Linked DNA regions of Homo sapiens: region 1 is linked to region 2. Evidence: promoter capture Hi-C in human tissues and cell types (Jung and others, 2019). All regions are on one chromosome and are shown on one strand. Each heading gives the region's core, a stretch centred on a gene start or on the middle of the fragment in contact. The rest is flanking DNA. Distances are from core to core; before and after follow the strand shown. Region 1 overlaps NOLC1 (nucleolar and coiled-body phosphoprotein 1). Region 2 holds the start of NT5C2 (5'-nucleotidase, cytosolic II).

Region 1 (3,415 bases), core at 347-2,846, 1.0 Mb before region 2:
CTCTAAAGCAACCACTAAACCACCTCCAGCAAAGAAAGCAGCAGAGAGCTCTTCAGACAGCTCAGGTAAGGCATATGGAGGCCCTCAGTTCAGTGAGATGCTCTCAGGCAGCTGCTAAGGGCTCCCCTGAATCCAATTTGGGGAGCTGTTGATTCCATCCCTTCTGTGTCTAGACTCTGACAGCTCTGAGGATGATGAAGCTCCTTCTAAGCCAGCTGGTACCACCAAGAATTCTTCAAATAAGCCAGCTGTCACCACCAAGTCACCTGCAGTGAAGCCAGCTGCAGCCCCCAAGCAACCTGTGGGCGGTGGCCAGAAGCTTCTGACGAGAAAGGCTGACAGCAGCTCCAGTGAGGAAGAGAGCAGCTCCAGTGAGGAGGAGAAGACAAAGAAGATGGTGGCCACCACTAAGCCCAAGGCGACTGCCAAAGCAGCTCTATCTCTGCCTGCCAAGCAGGCTCCTCAGGGTAGTAGGGACAGCAGCTCTGATTCAGACAGCTCCAGCAGTGAGGAGGAGGAAGAGAAGACATCTAAGTCTGCAGTTAAGAAGAAGCCACAGAAGGTAGCAGGAGGTGCAGCCCCTTCCAAGCCAGCCTCTGCAAAGAAAGGAAAGGCTGAGAGCAGCAACAGTTCTTCTTCTGATGACTCCAGTGAGGAAGAGGAAGAGAAGCTCAAGGGCAAGGGCTCTCCAAGACCACAAGCCCCCAAGGCCAATGGCACCTCTGCACTGACTGCCCAGAATGGAAAAGCAGCTAAGAACAGTGAGGAGGAGGAAGAAGAAAAGAAAAAGGCGGCAGTGGTAGTTTCCAAATCAGGTCTGTACCCAATGAACATGCCCTCTGGGTTTTGTCCCCCCAAATCAGGATGGGATATACTCTTTGAGAGTAGGGTAGTGAGAGGAGGCCCACCACTGGGCTTCCAGTTGTGGAAACTGGGAGGAAGAACAGGAAACTGGTTACCTTTTTTTTTTTTTATTAGAGTCTCACTGTGTCACCCAGACCAGGGTGCAATGGCATGATCACGGCTTGTGCAGCCTTAACCTCATGGACTCAGGTGATCTTTCCACCCCAGCCTCCTGAGTAGCCGGGACTACAAGCATGCACCACCATGTCTGGCTCATTTTTTTAACTTTTTATAGAGACAGAATCTCACTATATTGCCCAGGCTGATCTGAATTTCCTGGGCTCAAGCGATCCTCCTACCTTGGACTCCCAAAATGCTGGGGTTACAGTTGTGAGCCACTGTACTCGGCCTGAGTCTGGCTTTTTGTTTTGTAGGTTCATTAAAGAAGCGGAAGCAGAATGAGGCTGCCAAGGAGGCAGAGACTCCTCAGGCCAAGAAGATAAAGCTTCAGACCCCTAACACATTTCCAAAAAGGAAGAAAGTAAGTTGTCTCACTTTCTTCTCAGGAGCCAGCTCTTTAAAAGTAGAAAAATCTAGGATCATCTTGACAGCTCTGCCTGGCGTGACCTGGTACATGTGCCCATGTGTATCACTCAGGAGAACTGTTACATGACCACTCTGTCTTTAATTTCCTACTTCATTCTTCTGTAGGGAGAAAAAAGGGCATCATCCCCATTCCGAAGGGTCAGGGAGGAGGAAATTGAGGTGGATTCACGAGTTGCGGACAACTCCTTTGATGCCAAGGTGAGAGAGAGATCTGTGCCATTCTTGGGAGGGAGGATGGGTAGTGTCAGAGAGGACAATTCTTGGTTCAGGTTGGTGGGAATCTTCTCTGGGTTCAGGTTTCCTTGAGCAGGGAGTAGAAAGAATAAAGTGACAGGGCTCCAGCATGGTCCTCCTCTGTGTTAATCTCCCTCTCTACTTACCAGCGAGGTGCAGCCGGAGACTGGGGAGAGCGAGCCAATCAGGTTTTGAAGTTCACCAAAGGCAAGTCCTTTCGGCATGAGAAAACCAAGAAGAAGCGGGGCAGCTACCGGGGAGGCTCAATCTCTGTCCAGGTCAATTCTATTAAGTTTGACAGCGAGTGACCTGAGGCCATCTTCGGTGAAGCAAGGGTGATGATCGGAGACTACTTACTTTCTCCAGTGGACCTGGGAACCCTCAGGTCTCTAGGTGAGGGTCTTGATGAGGACAGAAGTTTAGAGTAGGTCCTAAGACTTTACAGTGTAACATCCTCTCTGGTCCTTTTCTGTGTTCCTAGTTTTGTACAGACTTGTTTTTGAGTGTTGAGTAGCAGGGACAAAATAAGGGAATGTTATTTTTTAAGAAAATTCATTTTCATTGTTGTCTCCTTCCTTTTCTGTGAAAGTCCTCATACTGAGAAATTTGTATATTTTATATTAAATCACTTACTATTGATTTTTGTTGTGATTTTCAAAGGTGGATTCCCACAGATAAAATCTTGGCTATTGCCCAAAACATAGTAAAGGGTCACGTGTGACTTTTTATAATAGGAAGAAAATTCTGCCTTTGTGAGTGCACATGTCCACATTTCATCCCTCCTTCCCTCAAAACCCTAGAGAGGGGCATTAAAGAATTGTTGATGTATATGCAATGTCTGTTAAGCATGCACTATGTATTTCATCCTCATTTATTGGGTCTGGGACTGAAGTTTTTAGCCAGCATGGACCTAACCTACTTTTTGGGATAAAATTCTCTGTTTTGTTACAGGCAAAATTCTGGTATGGCGTGAATGCCATGGGTCATTCTGAATATATTTTTTTCTGTAATTTTATCATTACACGATGTTTGCAATACGTGCTTTGTTTTTTAATTTGAAAGCAAACTTTTCTACTGTTGAAAGACATTTTTTGACAACTTGACCCTTCCTAGTATTGAGTTCTAAGTTGAGGACTGCATCTTCTCGTTTTTTACAGTATAGAGAACAAAATGACATGAGTTTGAAAAATACATATCACTTGGTATTGCTGTCTTGGTTGCAGTGGTGATACAGAATTGGTTTCATTAATTCCTACATGGTTGAGAATCACTGATCAAGAAAGTGGGGGGAAAAAAAACAAACGTTAAAACCTCAATCCTCAGTAGGAAGGTAGATTACATTAGGTGAAATTATAGGTAATCTATGTATGTGCTAATGGGGTTGGAAAGAACCTTACAGAGCATATTACCTGATAAACTGGAGTGGGTTTGGGAGAACAAACTAATAGGATTATTGTGTCTCCTAGTTGGTACCTGGGAGCAATTGACATGCCCCCTTCAGAACCTTAACTGTTAGTAGCAGTGGCTGTAACAACACAAACCAGTGACCAGAGATAACAGCTTTTAGGCCAAGCTGGCCTGACGGTATGGCTGCAGGAAGTGACTGAGCAGTAGCGGTACTCAGCCAGACCAAGACGGAGAGGGAAGAGTCCACAGCTTTCTGGAAGCTAAGGCATTCTGGTGGTAGAAAAGTGTGCCCCAAGCCTTCATGGACGAGTTATAGGTCTTAAGA
Region 2 (3,528 bases), core at 494-2,993:
CTTTCTTTAGGAAGATGTGATGTCTTCTGGTTAAGGGTGGCAGGTACTATAAGGGAATACTATCTATATAAATCTTCTTACAATTACAAACTTCTGAAAACTTGTAGCTGATGGTAAATTTTCATACAATGGCATCAAACCTTTGAACTGAAAGGAATCTTGCATAACATCTCCTTCAGAACCCCCCCCACTCCACCCCGCGCCCCTCCACCTTATTTTACAGATTTGTTGGTTACTAAATCCTAAAACCTTAATTCTGGGTCAATGAGAGTAATGCAGCTACCTATACTGTTGAAATGTAGTGGTTTACACTGCAATGGAAATGCACTTCAGAAATAAGTCTGTGTATGCTAGTATCAACCCTGCATGTGGAGTTTTTATTTTAATTACTAACCAGCTATGTTTTCTTGAACTTAACCTTTTTTGTTCTTTTTTTTTTTTCCACTCTCAGCTCACACCTATTTTTTTTCTCTTTTCGAACTTCACCCTTTCAGGCCTGGATGTCTTCATCTGGATAAATTCTAACCGTTGTTGAAAAGCCATGTGGTAAATATTTTTGAAACCTAAAGCCTTCTCTACGCAATAACACTAAGTTTTCATGGTAAATGACACAGTTTCAATATTCTCCCTTTCACATTATGGTCAGTAGTTTGCATTCGTTGCTTGAAGAGGCGAAATGAATAGTCTACAGACACTGGGAACCAAGTACAGCTCAATCCTGAAGAACTCATCGGCCCCTGGACGGGCGCGCACACACCCCCCTGTAATGGTGACTAGTCATTTCGGGGCGCTGTACTTCAGAGCACGACCCCCCTCAAACATCAAGGCCCTAAAGGTGAAAGCCCAGGAAAACGTCGATTCGGACAGCAGCCTCTACCTGCTGCTTTTAGAAGCTGTGGCCTGCCGGAGTCAAACCCCCAAAACGTTTTTCTTAAACTAAGGGTTCAGGCCTCAGATCGGCATCTCGCCCTCTCCGATTTCAGGAGCCCCGAAAAAAGGAGAAGAATAGGCCGCCACTGAACGGCTCAGCCCCCTGACCAGGAGCTGTCCGGATGTTTTTTGTGGCGGCTTGCAATTCGCTGTGACCTTTCCAGGAAGTGTTGCACACGGGCGTGTGGCAAACGAGCTGGCCGTTTCTCGCGGTCCTGCTAAAACGCTGTCAACCTGGCGCTCCACCAGAGGCCCCTTGGCTTCTCGGGAGGCGACCGAGGAGCTCTGGGGGCGGGGAGGCTTTTACAAGAAGCGAAAAGACGGCCTCAGGGGTGGCCGGGAACAGCCTGGAATCAGCTGGAGGACGTCAGCAGGACTGAGGAAAGGGCTACCACCAGCGTGAGGAAAGGGGGGAAGAGGGCGGAACGCGGCGAACGGCCGCGCTGGGAGGCTGAGGCGGGGTCCCAGCGAGCCGGCGGCTGGGAAACAATGGCGCGAGCGTGACGTGGGCCGGAGGCGTCGCGGCGGCGCGGAGGAAGGGGCTGCCGTGGGGCGGGGGCCGCACCGAGGGAGTTGGGAGGCGTGCGGCGTCCGCGAGCGCGCTGGCGGGGACTCGGCCTAAGGAGAGGGGCCTTGGGGCCATGGTCCCTGGGGGCCGGGGGCGGGGGCAGGCGGCGGCCGCTACCCTGGGGTCGCGTGTTCGGCCGCGCACCTCCCCACCTAGCTCCCCGTTCGCCCGCTCCTTCCCCGCCCGCCCACGGGGCCCGCCGCACTCACCGGCTCCAGCGCACCGCAACAATCCCAGCGCGCAACTGCCGCAGCCGCCTCAACGCGCGCCCTCCCCGCCCCCGCCGCCCGGCACCGCCCCGCGCCGCCCCTCTGCTCGCGCCCGGCCAGGGACCGGCGCGCTGTTCCGTCCCCCAGCTCCGCCGCAGAGTTCGGCGAAGCCGACGCTCCCTGACCGCGCTGCGTCTGTCTGTCCCGCGGGTCTGGAGATCTTCAAACGATGGAACACCGGCTTTGCCCTTCTGAGGGTCTCCATCCCTTGGCATTCTGCCTGCGCCCCTCAGCCTGGCCCTGGGCTAACCTCTCCACTGTGTCTCATTCAGAAGAAGCTTTTCCTTGGGAGGAGAGGGCATCCTTTTTCCCAGTCACAGAATGTTTTGGTCTAATGGACCTCAAGGCCCCTCATGCGTCCACACCCCCATGGCACCCTCGAATCCCCTTGATGGCTAAAAACACCAGCTTTGAAGTTTGTCAGAACGAGTTCCAGTCCCAGTACCACCACTTACAAACTGTAACCTCGGGCGAGGTACCTGACCTCCTATACCTGGTGCCCACATTTGTAGCACCAGGATAGGGAACAACAGTCCCCACATCAAAGGGTGTTGACGGGATGAAATCACACAATATAGGTGAGGCCCTCAGCAGGATCCTGGCACACAGTAAGCACTCAATAAATGTTCACCCCACCACCAGCAACTCAGCAGGAAGACTCCGCAAAAGCAGCTAGCTATTTCCAGAGGACTGAATTCCTTGGTCCGAGCAGCTCTCACCAGTGAGAAAATGTGTCTAAACTTCCACTCTCAGGGCCGAAATTCGATGCCTTGGAGCCACAGAGAACAAACGTCTAATCTCTCCTGGACCTTTGACTTTTCAGATACTTTACTTCTATCACCTCTGCCCAAGGTCTTCTCATTCCACATCAGTGTCTCCCGTTCCTTCCATTGTTCCTCCTCTGCCCTGGTTTTGAGGGTCTTTATCCCTCTCACGCAAATGGTAGATTTGACTGTGATTTCTTTAGAATACATCACCCAAGACTGAACCAAATGTTTGTGGTATCATCAGAGCAAAGCAGGACTATAGCTTCCTCCTTTTGGGACCTATCGCTTTGCACTCCTGCGATAAAGTTCTTGGCACCCATACTGTTGACTCATATTGGGCTTGCAGTCAACCAAAACCTCCGCGTCTTTTTAATAAGTGCTCCGCCAGAGCACTTCTACCCCTTCTTGTGCTTCTCAGCCAACTTCGCTTCAGGTCAGCTAAGGATAGACCTTGGGCCCCTCACCTTCTAAATTTCTCAGGATATATGGAAAAGAGGAATAGGGGTTGGAAGCTGGCATAACACAATCTTTAAACCAAGTGCATTTGAAAAAAGGCCAGGGTGGCGGGGCGTGGTAGCTCACACCTGTAATCCCATCACTTTGGGAAGCCAAGGCAGGTGGATCATTTGAGGTCAGGAGTTCAAGACCAGCCTGACCAACATGGCGAAACCCCATCTCTACTAAAAATACAAAAATTAGCTGGGCATGGTGGCACGCACCTGTAGTCCCAGCTACTCGGGAGGCTGAGGCAGGAGAATCGCTTGAACCCGGAAGGCGGAGGTTGCAGTGAGCCAAGATCACGCCACTGAACTCCAGCCTGGGCGACAGAGGGAGACTCCATCTCCAAAAAAAAAAAAAAAGAAGAAACGAAAAAAGGCCAGGGTTTGTGTCTAAACACTATGGTACTGAGAGAAAAACAAATATAGAGACACACACAAATGAATGTGATCACAACTGTGAAAAAAAACTGCACACGCAAAAGACTACAGGGAAA

The links. Contacts are between HindIII fragments. The study calls those that stand out against the background at their distance.
Region 1: a fragment that was not itself captured here is called in contact with the fragment with the promoter of NT5C2 in region 2 in 1 of the 25 tissues and cell types used here (spleen).

What each region holds. Positions count from the first base shown.
Region 1 is chr10:102,160,279-102,163,693 of GRCh38, forward strand. It overlaps NOLC1 (nucleolar and coiled-body phosphoprotein 1), which reads left to right. Exons shown (of 13, transcript NM_004741.5): 9 at 1-65; 10 at 174-815; 11 at 1,278-1,384; 12 at 1,555-1,647; 13 at 1,833-3,415. The coding sequence ends at 1,991. Among named protein-coding and RNA genes, the nearest start is that of NOLC1, 9.6 kb to the left of the region's middle. The HindIII fragment of the contact is 5,920 bases long and covers 1-3,415 here.
Region 2 is chr10:103,191,529-103,195,056 of GRCh38, forward strand. It overlaps NT5C2 (5'-nucleotidase, cytosolic II), which reads right to left and starts at 1,744. Exons shown (of 19, transcript NM_001351169.2): 1 at 1,708-1,744. RefSeq lists enhancers at 485-1,173, 1,174-1,860 and a silencer at 1,559-1,838. The HindIII fragment of the contact is 10,406 bases long and covers 1-3,528 here.